3 separate regions of the Homo sapiens genome follow, and regions 1 and 2 are each linked to region 3. Evidence: promoter capture Hi-C in human tissues and cell types (Jung and others, 2019). All regions are on one chromosome and are shown on one strand. The core of a region is centred on a gene start or on the middle of the fragment in contact, and the rest is flanking DNA. Distances in the headings are between cores, read along the strand shown. Region 1 overlaps GRIK2 (glutamate ionotropic receptor kainate type subunit 2). Region 2 overlaps GRIK2 (glutamate ionotropic receptor kainate type subunit 2). Region 3 holds the start of GRIK2 (glutamate ionotropic receptor kainate type subunit 2).

The links. Contacts are between HindIII fragments. The study calls those that stand out against the background at their distance.
Region 1: a contact is called between a fragment that was not itself captured here and the fragment with the promoter of GRIK2 in region 3, in 2 of the 25 tissues and cell types used here (H1 embryonic stem cells and mesendoderm cells).
Region 2: a fragment that was not itself captured here is called in contact with the fragment with the promoter of GRIK2 in region 3 in 2 of the 25 tissues and cell types used here (H1 embryonic stem cells and IMR-90 fibroblasts).

Annotation. Positions count from the first base shown.
Region 1 is chr6:101,611,780-101,615,696 of GRCh38, reverse strand. The region is part of intron 2 of GRIK2 (glutamate ionotropic receptor kainate type subunit 2); the gene reads right to left. Among named protein-coding and RNA genes, the nearest start is that of GRIK2, 220 kb to the right of the region's middle. RefSeq lists an enhancer at 253-1,116. The HindIII fragment of the contact is 3,887 bases long and covers 1-3,630 here.
Region 2 is chr6:101,592,778-101,597,172 of GRCh38, reverse strand. All of the region lies in intron 2 of GRIK2 (glutamate ionotropic receptor kainate type subunit 2), which reads right to left. Among named protein-coding and RNA genes, the nearest start is that of GRIK2, 200 kb to the right of the region's middle. The HindIII fragment of the contact is 5,016 bases long and covers 429-4,395 here.
Region 3 is chr6:101,391,901-101,396,063 of GRCh38, reverse strand. GRIK2 (glutamate ionotropic receptor kainate type subunit 2) reads right to left here and starts at 2,356. Exons shown (of 17, transcript NM_021956.5): 1 at 2,227-2,356. The HindIII fragment of the contact is 9,322 bases long and covers 1-2,700 here.

The DNA.
Region 1 (3,917 bases), core at 438-2,937, 220 kb before region 3:
ATCTTCTATAAAACTGTTTTCTCCTAGAATTATTCTTTTTATTATAATGTCAGGATTGTACATAGTATTTCATAAGCATGTGATCCATGAAGAGATAATTGCTCTCCTGAGAGTTCATAAATCATGTTTGATGGATAAAATATATCTCAGAATAATAAAGGACTCATAAGACCTATATGATCTTAAAGAAGCATCTTAGTAATCAATAATTTTGTGCTCTTTCTAGACTTACACCAAAATTCAACCAGTTTCACATTTTCAAGAATCTGGAGACTCCTGTGTAGTTATCATCTAATTCCTTATTCTCCATACAACACAAGCAAAATGTACTGCTTTCTCATACTTACCTTGAACTTTTTAGGTTCAAAACATCATCTAAGAAAATCATTCTCACAGCTTTATCATTGTTTTATTTCTTAATTCAGGAAGGGCCATCATATCTCACATAACCTCTATATCAAACCATAAAATGCCCGCAATTCTTTTTCCAAGCTTATATTAAAAGTTAACAGTTCTCTTCACTACAAAAGGCTTGTTAAAAGAAGAAAAAAAGAAGGAGAGGAGAATACCTTTCTTTTTCATGGGCACAATTGCCCTCCTTTGTTTTGTAGATATAGGAAACCAAATGTCAAGTGATCCCTGGTTTACACAGAACACTCAGTGCTGAAACTTTTCACATCACAGTCTCTGACTCACAAAAGAACTTCACTACTTAAGACTTGAAATAAAAGATTAGTCAACTGCTAAAGCCTAGTCAATGCCTTTCTCTTTTAAATCAATTGTAACTACTACTGAGGACTGTATGACTCATAAACCCATGATGGATGTACCAACCAACGTCACATCTAACCTCTGAGACTTTTCAAATAGGTCTTACCTTAAAGTGAGTACAATCTGTGTTTTGTAGACTTTAATTTAATAAAGAAACTGATGTTCTAAATGGCACACCATCTGTTATCCTCCCAGAAGATATGTTGATTTTCTCCATCAAATGTTATACCAATCTTATTTCCTGTCTAAACAATTGCAAAAGGTTCCTCTGCATTTTAATTTTGTACAAATCATTATCCAAAGGACAAAATCATCAAGCTTCTTTAATTTTTATACAATATAATGCCAAAGGACAATGTTACATTGGCCTTTGGCTATTAAATGACATGCCATGGATATTAAATGACATTAGGGTATCATTTTTTTCTCCTTAGGCAAAATAATGATATAGTGGTTATATAAGAAAATATCCTGACTCTTAGGAGATCAAGTCTTTAGGTATGAAAGAAGTATCATAAACAAAAAACTGGAAAAATATAAGCAATTGTTTAATCAAAGTGCTTATGAGTGTTTATTTATACAATTGTTTGAACTTTTCTGTATGTTTAAAAATTCAAAATAAAAGTTTGGGGGGAAAAGAAAATGGACAAGAAGAAATAAAACCCCAATACTCATTTTGTTCTTAATGCATATTTTTAACAGACTTCTCAAAATGACCATTAAATTAACCTGCAAATATTTACATGTACTATGCACTAAAATTGCACTATTATCCTGAGTGTAAAAGATGGAGTCTAAGAATCATACAATCTGTAAATCATCTGGTCTACTCATCATTCAGATACATAGATTGCCTTTATTACTACACATTGGCCTCCAGGAATGACAAACTTATCATCTGAAGCAGTCCCTCACCTCTCTGGAGAGCTCCAGCACAAAGTTCTCCCATATATTAATCCATCCCCTGTTTTCCTAAAGTTTTTAATCATATCTTTTTATTGAGATACATTTAATCCCAACTTAAACATGATTATCTTCCAGAATTTGAAAACATTTCATCTTCCTACTGCGTTTCTTTCATCTAGCCTAACACTTTGAAATTGTTTAACTGTTTGTCACATGACTAATCTGATCCTTTCGTTTTTCTAGTTTTTTTTTTTTTTCTGAACACAGCCTAGTGTGTCCACAGTTCAATGTTATACTCCAAGTGTATCCAAGCAAAGCAAATTATGAGAGAGTGGCCAGCTCCATAAGTTAATGTATTATAGATAAAATACTGGATTTTTTTAACAGTACAGTATCACACTGCTCATTCATCTTAAGCTTATTGTTTAAAAAGTTTATGTTTGTGATGTACTTTTTTAAAATTTTTTTACAAGTATCCCTGATTAATATCTTTTACTTACAGTTGGTCTAATTTTCTAATTAAAACCACTTGGGGCCTAATTCTATCATCAACTGTTATTATTAACTTATTCAACATCTAATGTATCAAGGTAATTTACTAATATTACAAAGGTATGTGAAATGTGTTTCTTTACCTTCTGCCTTTAGGTCATATTCAGTTTTGCTTTTATATCTAAGTCAGTGATAAAAATCATAAGCCAGAAAGAGTTAAAGACCAAGCAAAGCTTTAGACCATAACCTCATAGATACCCCACTGGAGTCTGTCCCTATTGTTAAACTAGGTAATGGTCTTCTTAATTATTCTAGCTAACAGTTTATAGATTCCCATCATTTCTACAGGAATGTCACTGTAAACCTTTTCATATGCTTGACTAAGTCCAGAAGTTCTATGTCTTCCACACCACAACAATGCATCTCCACTGGATTTTTCATGGATACTTGCACCTATTCTAGCTTTTTTCAGTAGTTTATAGCTACTACAATCAAAGTCATTTTTATAACGTGAAACATTGATCTTATTATTCAACTTCCTAAAATCTTTCAATGACTAATCTTTAAGCTTAATGCTATTTACAAAGTTTTTCATAATTTGTCTTCTACCTTCCTTTCCAACCTCTTTTCTTACCACTCCCACTTCCCCAGTCATACAGCCATATTAAACCACTTACCTTTACCTGATTGAACCAAAATCAAATGCCTCCATTGCTTTCCAAACAGGGCTCATCTGCCCAGGAGCCCAGCTTCTTCTTACTGACCTATGTACCTACACACACACACACACACACACACACACACACACACATTAACACATACATCTGTAAATTTATCTCTCATTGTGAGCTTTTGAAATAGTCACCTTTTCTGGGAAAACATTCCTCACTGGTCCTAACTGCACTGAACTAATTGTGTCTTTGCTTTATGTGCTCAATGTTCCAGACCCCTTTCAAACATAATGCAAACTCCTGCAATTTGAAGCTAAAGAAATTTAAATAAGTATGAAACATGTTTACACCTAAGCTCAATCTCATTGAAGAATGAAAGTTCCTAACAGTCAACATTTATTGACATCATACGCTACATCAGGCACTGTGTATTTTACAAACATTAATAAAAAGTCATCAAAAAGTTTATTTGACTCACGTTTTCTGTCTTTAATCTATTTCCCATCAAATAAAATTTATATTTTAAGTCTGAATATAATAATATTTAAGTTGTCCCAATTACTGAGTCTAAGATTTGTTTTTCTTCTTTATGTTTCAGTCCTGCAAGGTAGATTAATTCTTAGTCCAAAGAACCTGCTTCACTGAGCTTATTGAATTCTGCTTTAGCAAGACCGTGAAACAGGTCTAGCATCCTCAGTGCCTTCCTAAGGTCAGTTACACAGTTGGCAAGTGATGGATGCTGGATTAAGACACGAGGGACCTCAGTCCAGGCCCCATCTTTTAATTGCCATTCTGTATTGCTTCTTGCTGGGTAATATTGCCACTCTTTATCCTCAACTTCTGGCTATTTTCTCAATAACTTTCCTCTTTCTAAGTGGTAAATACTTTGTTTCTTTGAACAAATTCTAAGAGTTTTATGTCCATATAAACTATGACTATAACAATTTGAAATTAATTTTGTGTGAAGTTGGTGAGTGCCTAAATGTATGCTGGTTAAAAAGTGAAAACAAAAATAAAACATATATACATGTGACCCGTGGACACACCATGGAAAAATAAATAAGTAGGTGACAGCTT
Region 2 (4,395 bases), core at 1,687-4,186, 200 kb before region 3:
TCCACTTATAAGTGAGAACATGTGGTATTTGGTTTTCTCTATCAATTCACTTAGGATAATGACCTCCAGCTGCATCCATGTTGCTGCAAAGGACATAATTTTGTTGTTTTCTATGGCTGCATAGTATTTTATGTTGTATATGTACCATATTTTCTTTATCCAATCTACCATTATTGGGCACCTAGGTTGATTCCATGCCTTTGCTATTGTGAATACTGCTGTGATTAACATATAAGTGCATGTGTCTTTTTGGCAGATTAATTTACTTTCCTTTGGGTATATAGCCTGTAATGCGATTGGTTATTCAAATGGTAGTTCTATTTTTAGTTCTACATAAAGACATTTTAAAAAAGAGTTACCTACTTTGGCTATACTGCTCCAGGGATCACTGCATTTTTATTGAAGAAAAGTACTCCTGGGTTCTAGAAGAGCTTTAATTGCTGCTTCCATTTCTTTCTCCATGCAGTTAAAACATTGCCTCTATTTAAGGGTTTTTATGATTACTTTTCTGAGAAAGTAGTCAAAAGTAAATGAGGTGCTACTAATTAACTCTAATCTAAATCTAGAGTATCATCAAGCCCACTTCCCATAGACACCAAATTATAAATTTCATTCACTCACCCTTTAAGAAAGAGTTTATGCTTCCCATTTTGACTATCTCTTGATTCTTCCTATCATCTATTAAAATGTAGAAGATAATACCAACCATACAATACAGAGTTGTTGTGATCTCACAGGATAACACAAATTAGATGACCTAGAATGCTAGACCCTAGTTAAAAAAGAAAAAACAACTGATACTTCTTAGAAGTTAAGCCTCTCAGGTAAAAAGGTAAATTTCTAGGTGATGGTTGTTAGCAAAGATATAAATAATGAAAAAATTAGCTGAATCCTGCGTGACACCATTCATTCATTTATTTTGCCTGAGAGGAAAAAAAAAAAAGGACACAGCAAGAAAAAAAAAAAGGATTAGTTTAAAAACAATTCTGCAAGGGTCAGTTGACCACTGATAATGTCTTGGTGGCATGATAACCCAAAGGCCTTGTGAAAATATGAATGCCTGAAATCAGTTTAAAATTTGAAGTTGTTTGCTCTGTGATTCATGAGGCTAGAACTCCTGGAGACCCTCACTCTGTTAGTAAAAGAAATTTTCCTCACAACATGCTTGCCTTCATGGATTTGCAGCTGAAATTTAAAAAAGCAAAAAAAAAAAAAAATTTTAATGAATTATATTTAGCTGAACACCGGGGCAGAGGTAAATAAAAGGGTATAAAACACATAGGAAGAAAACACTGGTATAGAAGAAAGTCAGAACCATAGGTGACCAAGAAAATATAAGGCCCATAAAAACTGGGTCTGTGACAGACTGATCTTAAGCAGATTCAAGGAGTTGGAGACTCCAGATGACTTCTAGCATTTATATGTGTATGAATATATATATATATATATATATACACACACACACACACACACATATATATATACATGCACAAATATATTTATGTGTATATAAATATGTGTTTATATATATGTCTGTGTGTGTATGCATACACATGTGTGTGTTTGTACCTGTGTGTGTGTATATATATACACATATAAAATCCCTATTCTTACATTCAAGAAAGTCATAGGACCATGCTAATATGGCTTGTTTTGAACTACATAGAATCTGGCATCATCTGGCTGGAATGTCAGCAATCTATGGCCCTTAGGCCAAACTTGACCAGCTATCTGTTTTTATAAATAAAGATGTATTGAAACACAACCACACTCATTGCCTTATATATTGTCTAAGACTACTTTTGTGCTTTTACAAAGCAGAGTAGAACAGTTGCAACAAACCATATACCCCCAAATACTGAAAGTCTGTAACTACCTGGTCCTTCACAGACAGTTTGCTAACTGATCTGTACATCACTCCCCTCCTTCTGTCTGTCTCTCCCACCTTTCTTCTCTCCCTGTTTTCCTCCCTTTCTCCTTCCATTTCTTGCCTTCTTCCTTTTTATTCCTTTTGGTTTTCATGTTTTTGACTGATCATCACATTGTCAAAAGTGGCTATTCTAAACTTTTTAGAATTTTAAAAGTTATTGAAAAGTCTATGAATGCCTACTTGAGGTTTCTCGGTACCTTAACCTCCCTCTTTTATTCATTTGTATATTCCAAAGCTTAGCCACCAACATTTGCCCTGATATAAGATCTTCCAGACTTTGCTATCTTGCCCACATGCTTATTTGTCTAAAATTTTTCTTTATTCTCCCTTAAAGTATAAAACAACATAAGAAAAAAAAGAGAAAAAAACACAAAAAGATGTCTCACCAATTCTGATTCCCTGTAATTCACCGCCCTATCTGCCTTCATCCATGCTTTTAAACTACAAATATTTCTTTAAACATAACTCATATGTCACTGCCTCCACTTTGTTACCATCCACTTACACTATAAATGCCTTCAACCTGGCTTTGCCTTGCTACTCCACTGAATTTTACTTAGAAGCTACCAAGAGCCAACTTGTCACCAATTTTGTTTTGTTCTTCATTAAGGTCTTTTTGGTAAGGGATTTTCTTATATCTTTATTGAAACTCTATACTCATTTTGTTTCTGAGACTAAAAATTCCACTAGTATTCAAGTAAAATACAACTTTTTCTCAAACATATGCTATATATTTCCTTGCCTTAAACCCATTTTATGGTTGTGCTTTCTTTGAAAAACTATGCTTTTTGTGTGGCACAAGCACTTTCTACTCCAAGTTGTGATATAATACATCCATCAAATATAACTCCAGGAGGATATGAAAATGTCTTTTTTATTCATTATTGTGTCTTGAGCATCAGTTACATGTTAAATACTAAATAACAACGGAATAGATGTATTTACTCTCTGAAAGAAAATTCGGAGATCATCTATTCCAACCCCATTGACTTTCCTATGTTGAGAAAATAAATTACTGATAAAGCCGGCACACTCAAGCCTGTTCCAGTGCTTGGTATAACATTTTAGTGCTACCTCTATTACATTACTAAATTGGCATGGAATGTTTTCCTTTTCAAGGTATCTTAAGAAAAGTAATAACTCATTTAATTAATAAACTCACTTATTACTTGTGGATTATCAGGAATTGTGAATTTAGGTTAATGTTTTATCCCAACACCTGACATTTCATAATACATTTTTTGTTTTTTACATATGCTTTTATTTCTTACAAGATTTTTTCATGTGATGTAAGCATCCCTGGATATATGTACATTTTTCATGGGGAGGCATATTCATTTTAGAGAAATACTTATAGCGCAATCTATCTGAAAATTCTGTAAAATTTTCCAATAGCATGAGAAAAAAGAAATATCCCCCAGATGTGATATTATACCTAAAGTAACATATGAAGCTGTCATCTGTTCAAAAACTAAACTTTGCTCATTGGGAAGTAAAAAATGAAAAAGTCAACTTTAATATTACTTGGAGTCATCTTTTGGCAGCGTAATCTATAACACCTAATTTTATGAGTTTGTATTGCCTCAAATATGAGCTCCCACACATCCTACTAAAATCTGTTGACTGCCTTTCTATTTTAGGCTCTGTAAAAATAGAAATACACTCTGTAGCTTGAAGAAGTTTATAATATTGTGAGAGAGGAATAATAGCATTAAGCAGCTGGGCTTTAGTTTTCACATCTAAAAATGGAGATGAAATTCCTGTCCTGCCTAGCTCATGGTATGTTTGAAAGAGTCAGAGGAACAGTGAAAGCACTCTGTAAAATATAAATAACTACAGAAATCTTAATTATTATTATTATGATGCTCATTACACGACAGCAAATTATTAAAGATCAGAATATATGAAACAAATAGTGAAGCTTTGGGAGAAATCAACTTAGAGCAGAGAGTTAGGGAAATCTTTATGAAGGAAGTTGCTTCTATTCCCATCATCACCTCCATCACTTTATATCCAGACTGGAAATTATCTATCAGTGATCTACTGCCCCCAGTTACTTCCTATTCTAAATCTATTATGCCAACACCAAACCAAGTTCTTACTTAGATCACAATCATTGTATCAAACACCTTCAAACACCCATAGGATGCCAGAAGCAATCTAAATTCCTTATTTGGAAATATCTCAGCCTTATCTCCAACTGTTCAGTTTTTCTAACTCTCCACTCCAGCTAAACTCCTGCAGCAACAATTGCCTATATCATTAATCTGGTAATTTGTTTTTATTTGTTCCAGCAAATAATTAATGTGGCTCATTTGACAATTAATCATGTGATGTAATTCCTTACAGCATCTGTTCTGCTGTTGCATCAAGCTGTTACTTATATTTTCATTTCCTTTATACAGTTGTCATTTTCTCATCTCTCAATGAGACATCAGTGGCCATTAAAAATTAAGTGTTTTAAT
Region 3 (4,163 bases), core at 1,107-3,606:
TTAACCCTTTTAAAAATTGTGTCAGTTCTGTAATTTGCTTCTTCCTTAAAGGAAAGAGAAAACTACTGCTATTGGATATCAGGCAATTATATATACTTAGTAAGATTTATATATTTTATTCTATGGTCTCATTTTTTTCCTCATTTTAACCATATGGCACTCTTTATTTCTATGAGCCAAAGCTCTGTAGATTCCAAGGTCAAAGCAGAGATAACAAACTGCAAAAACACACATACACGCACACCCAGAGAGAAGCTGTATTTAGAAGTATACCTCAAAAAAATCATAGAAGGCTGACACAAATATCAAACCTATGATAAATTGACAAAGAAGAAAATGCATATCATGTTAATGCAAAGCTTCTTCCAACAATAACAAAAAAACCCACTAGCTTCATCTTTCACTATATTTTTATATTTGCAGATACTAATGACCTCTTATTCTTGGGCACTATTACTTGAGAAACAATTTTAGTTTCCTATTCTGCCAGTGAAAATGAATCTTATTCTAGTTAGCTGCCACCTGCTGGGGTATGAGAAAATGTGTAATAATCTTTATAGCACAACATTTAAAAAGACAATGCCTATACCTTTTGCTGGAAACAGCAAATACATACCCCAGAACAACCTGAATTTCAAAGATGTTTCAAAGGTTCTTACATGCCATAGCTATATTTAAATTTTTCACATGGAATTCTTACTAAGGATTCCACTTGACTTGTCACGGAAGTCCTGCTGTTATGTGACATTTGAAAAACCTCATCTTATAGTAACACCTAACCTATTATTCCATGCAAGTGGCCTGTTGCATAGCAATTTAGCTAAAACAAACAGCCTGTTTATACATGGCATTAAAGATCTCAGAGAATAAAGTCAGGACTGAGTCAGGTTTCAGTTGAAATCACACTGTTGCATACTTGCAACTCACTCTTCTTAACTATGCATGCTGTGGTATCCCTTATGATTCTGAACACATTATCAGCTGTTCCAGCAACATTCTGCTGCATTGATGATTAATGACATTTAGAGTTTTGATTAATTTTTAGACACTAAAATAAGTGTATCTTAATTAACAAATTGAAGTGGAATAAATTTACATATCCCAGAACTTTTTTTTTTAAATTTCAGCCTGTGTGATTTTCAATGGGTTTAAATAGGAGAAAACAAACAGATAAGACTTCCAAACATTGCTCAATTCTCTATCACCTTGCTCTTGTGCATTTCAATTTTTTGTTGTTTGTTTGACTCAAAAGTTTTTAAGGCCACTGGAAGTTGATAGGCTGCCTTGGTGGTTACAGGAATAGACTCTATAAAGTTAGAAAGTAATGAACTAAGACAAATCAAGATTGAAATACAATTGCATTTATTTCAGTAACTAAACTGACTAATTAAGACTCAAATGAACCAATCATCTCTCGTGAAATGAAAATAATCATCAATCCATAAGATAATTTCTGATGACAGAATACTTACAGTATGGAGATGAATAAACGATAGAAGATAATCTGTGCATTACCAAAAGGCTACTAATAGTAAGTTTTCTAATATTCCCCATTGCCTAAATTGGAAATTATTCTCTAAGGAGCCTCAGCTCGGTCGTGTTGTTTGGTAAAGAAACTCTATCTCCTTAAAGGTAAAAATATCAGAGGATGTGGTTCGTTAAAAGTTCTTGAGGTTTATGATCCACCCTGGTAACACTGCCCACTCCTTACCCTAATGGGACGCCCTCCAAGTTTTTTCAGAAGCTCTTAATACGGGTGCCGGTTAAAATAAATATACTTCCTCAGCGCAGAACTAAGGAGTAGGGTTAATGGAAGGATGGGTGGGCAGAAGGAGGGATGGGGAGTTCGTCAGACCCGCCGGCAGCCACACAGCTTCTTGCCATCTGTCTCATTCTCTTCGCCTCGCGTGAGTCCCCGTAGCTGAGGCCACTTCCTGACACGTCCACTTCTTAAATCATTTTATGTGGAGAACATAGGCGACTGCAGCCAACAGAGCCACTTGCATGCTTGACGGGAATTGGCTGAGATAAGCCCGACAAAGACTCGCAGTGAATCCGTCCAGCGGGCGCCCCGAGCGCACGGACGTCCGCAGCGCTACTGTTCGCCTTCTTCCTTCTCTCCAGGTGGAAAATGCCCCTCGCCCACCCGCAGTCCCTCCCGTCCTCTTGAAAACAAACACCTCGTGAAGGAGCCCGGAGTGCAGCCCACAGCCGGGGAGTCCTTACCTGGAGCTAGGGGTGAGGTGGGCGGGGAGGGGGTGGGGTGGTCCTCGGGGAGGAGCAGCCGGAGGAGGTCGGGCGGAAAAGTCCCCAGCTACCAGACCGACCAGCGCAGCCGCCGGCGCCGAGCGCGAGTGACGGCAGCGGCGAAGACGGTGACCGAGGAGCAGCAGCGGCGGCGGCGGCGGCAGAGACAGACACGCCTCCTGGCGGGGGTTCCTCGCCTCTTGCTTTAAAGGCGCCGCGCTCCTTTCCCCGTGGCCCCTGCACGCTCCTGGCCGCCGCGGCCACTCGGGGGCATCTCCCACCCCTGGACCACAGGAGCTAGAGCGAGAGAATTCCTGGTGTCCCTAGACTTGGATGTTACGAAGCCTCCGGCTGGACTTCGCTCCCTTAGCGCACACCCGCCTCCTGGGATGGGGAGACTAAGGCCAAGATGCTCTGTCAGGGAGTGAGTGATGCATGCAAAGCGCCGAGGAATTTGCCTAGCCTTGGGTGGTGACAACACATATAAGGAGCCCAAACACATTTGCTTCTGGGTGATGGCTTTTATGCCTCTCCGAAACCATAGCAACGAAACTTCTCCACTGCCAGGGCTTGGAGGGCTGCTGGTAGTCTCCAAAGTGGACCTCTTAGTCCAACTACGGTCATTTCCCTGAGGTTCGCAAAAAAAGATCTTGATCTGCGCACCCTCCCACCCCGACCTCCAGCGCATAGAGCAAATGCGCTCTGGTAGCGCTGCTGCGGGTATTCCCTCAGATGCTGGGAGTCACAGTGCCCTGCTCCCTGCCACCATTATTGAGAACAGATGCTTGGAAATTGACTTTTCCTGAGTGTTAGGAGGTCGGGCGGGCTGTCTCTGTGTATGTATGGCGCCTTAAATAGCAGACTCCCCTCTCCCCACCAAACTCCCGCCCAGGCCCCGGAACTCTCAACCTAAACACATTTCAGAAAGAAGTTGGATTCGAGATCTAGTGGGCGCCGAACCTGAGGTCGCAGACTCCAAGATTGGAGACAGGAGTCTGGGAAGCAGCCCTGGTTTGGCGGCCACTGGTCCAAGTTCTCGGGAGGACTCTTTTAAAGGCCAGAGATGGGGAGGGGCAACTGAGTCCCAGAGTCTTCCCGCAGCTTGGCTTCCAGGGAGGGGCTGGCGGCGGTGAGCGCACCAGGCTCTCCCTGCTTCACTGTGGAAACGATTAGCTTTTGCAAACAATCCCTGAGTTCCGCTCCTCTGGGTCGGAAAAGTCAACATCTATTCAAAACCGTTGCTATTTTATCCTCAGCCCTACAATATTAACTGGAGCTGAGTTTAGCAGTTTCCCCCAGAGGAAGTTGGCCAGCTCAGATTCGCGAGGAGATTTAAGTGAGGCTAAGCGGGAACAGGCCAGGCGCACTGGGCTCAAGAGACCATTTCAAACGGGCTGCATAAAGAAGGGGCCAGGGGGGATTCCACGGCTCTGCAGTCCCCTAGCAGTTCCAGTCCCTGGTGGTTCTCCACTATCTATCTAATTCCGAGGTCCGGGAATTAGAGAGGCTCTGAGTCCCCAGGGACCCGTTGTCTGAGCTGGAGACCAGAACTTGCCCTTTTGCTTCCTCCTTCACTGCAGCCCTAGTAAAGTTAAGCCCTCGCCGGACCCTGGCGCAGCAGGGCCATGTTCCACACCCTGAGGCTAGCGCCTGGCTCAGAATAGCTCTGAAACACAGAAATTCAGTCCTGCCAAAACCGCCAGTCTTTCCCTCTTGGTCACCATCCAGGACTCTCTGCGCCCCGTTCCCCACAACATGCTTACTGAGCATTCCTGGGTGGGGCAGGGTTGGGGGGAGGGGGACTGGGGACTTATGTTAAGGAGAGATGAGTTAGTGGCAATGGAGAGTCCATTAGTCATTTGAAGATCCCAGGGGTGGCTGGGCGGCTCCCTTAATTAAGTCAACAGCAGCCTTGT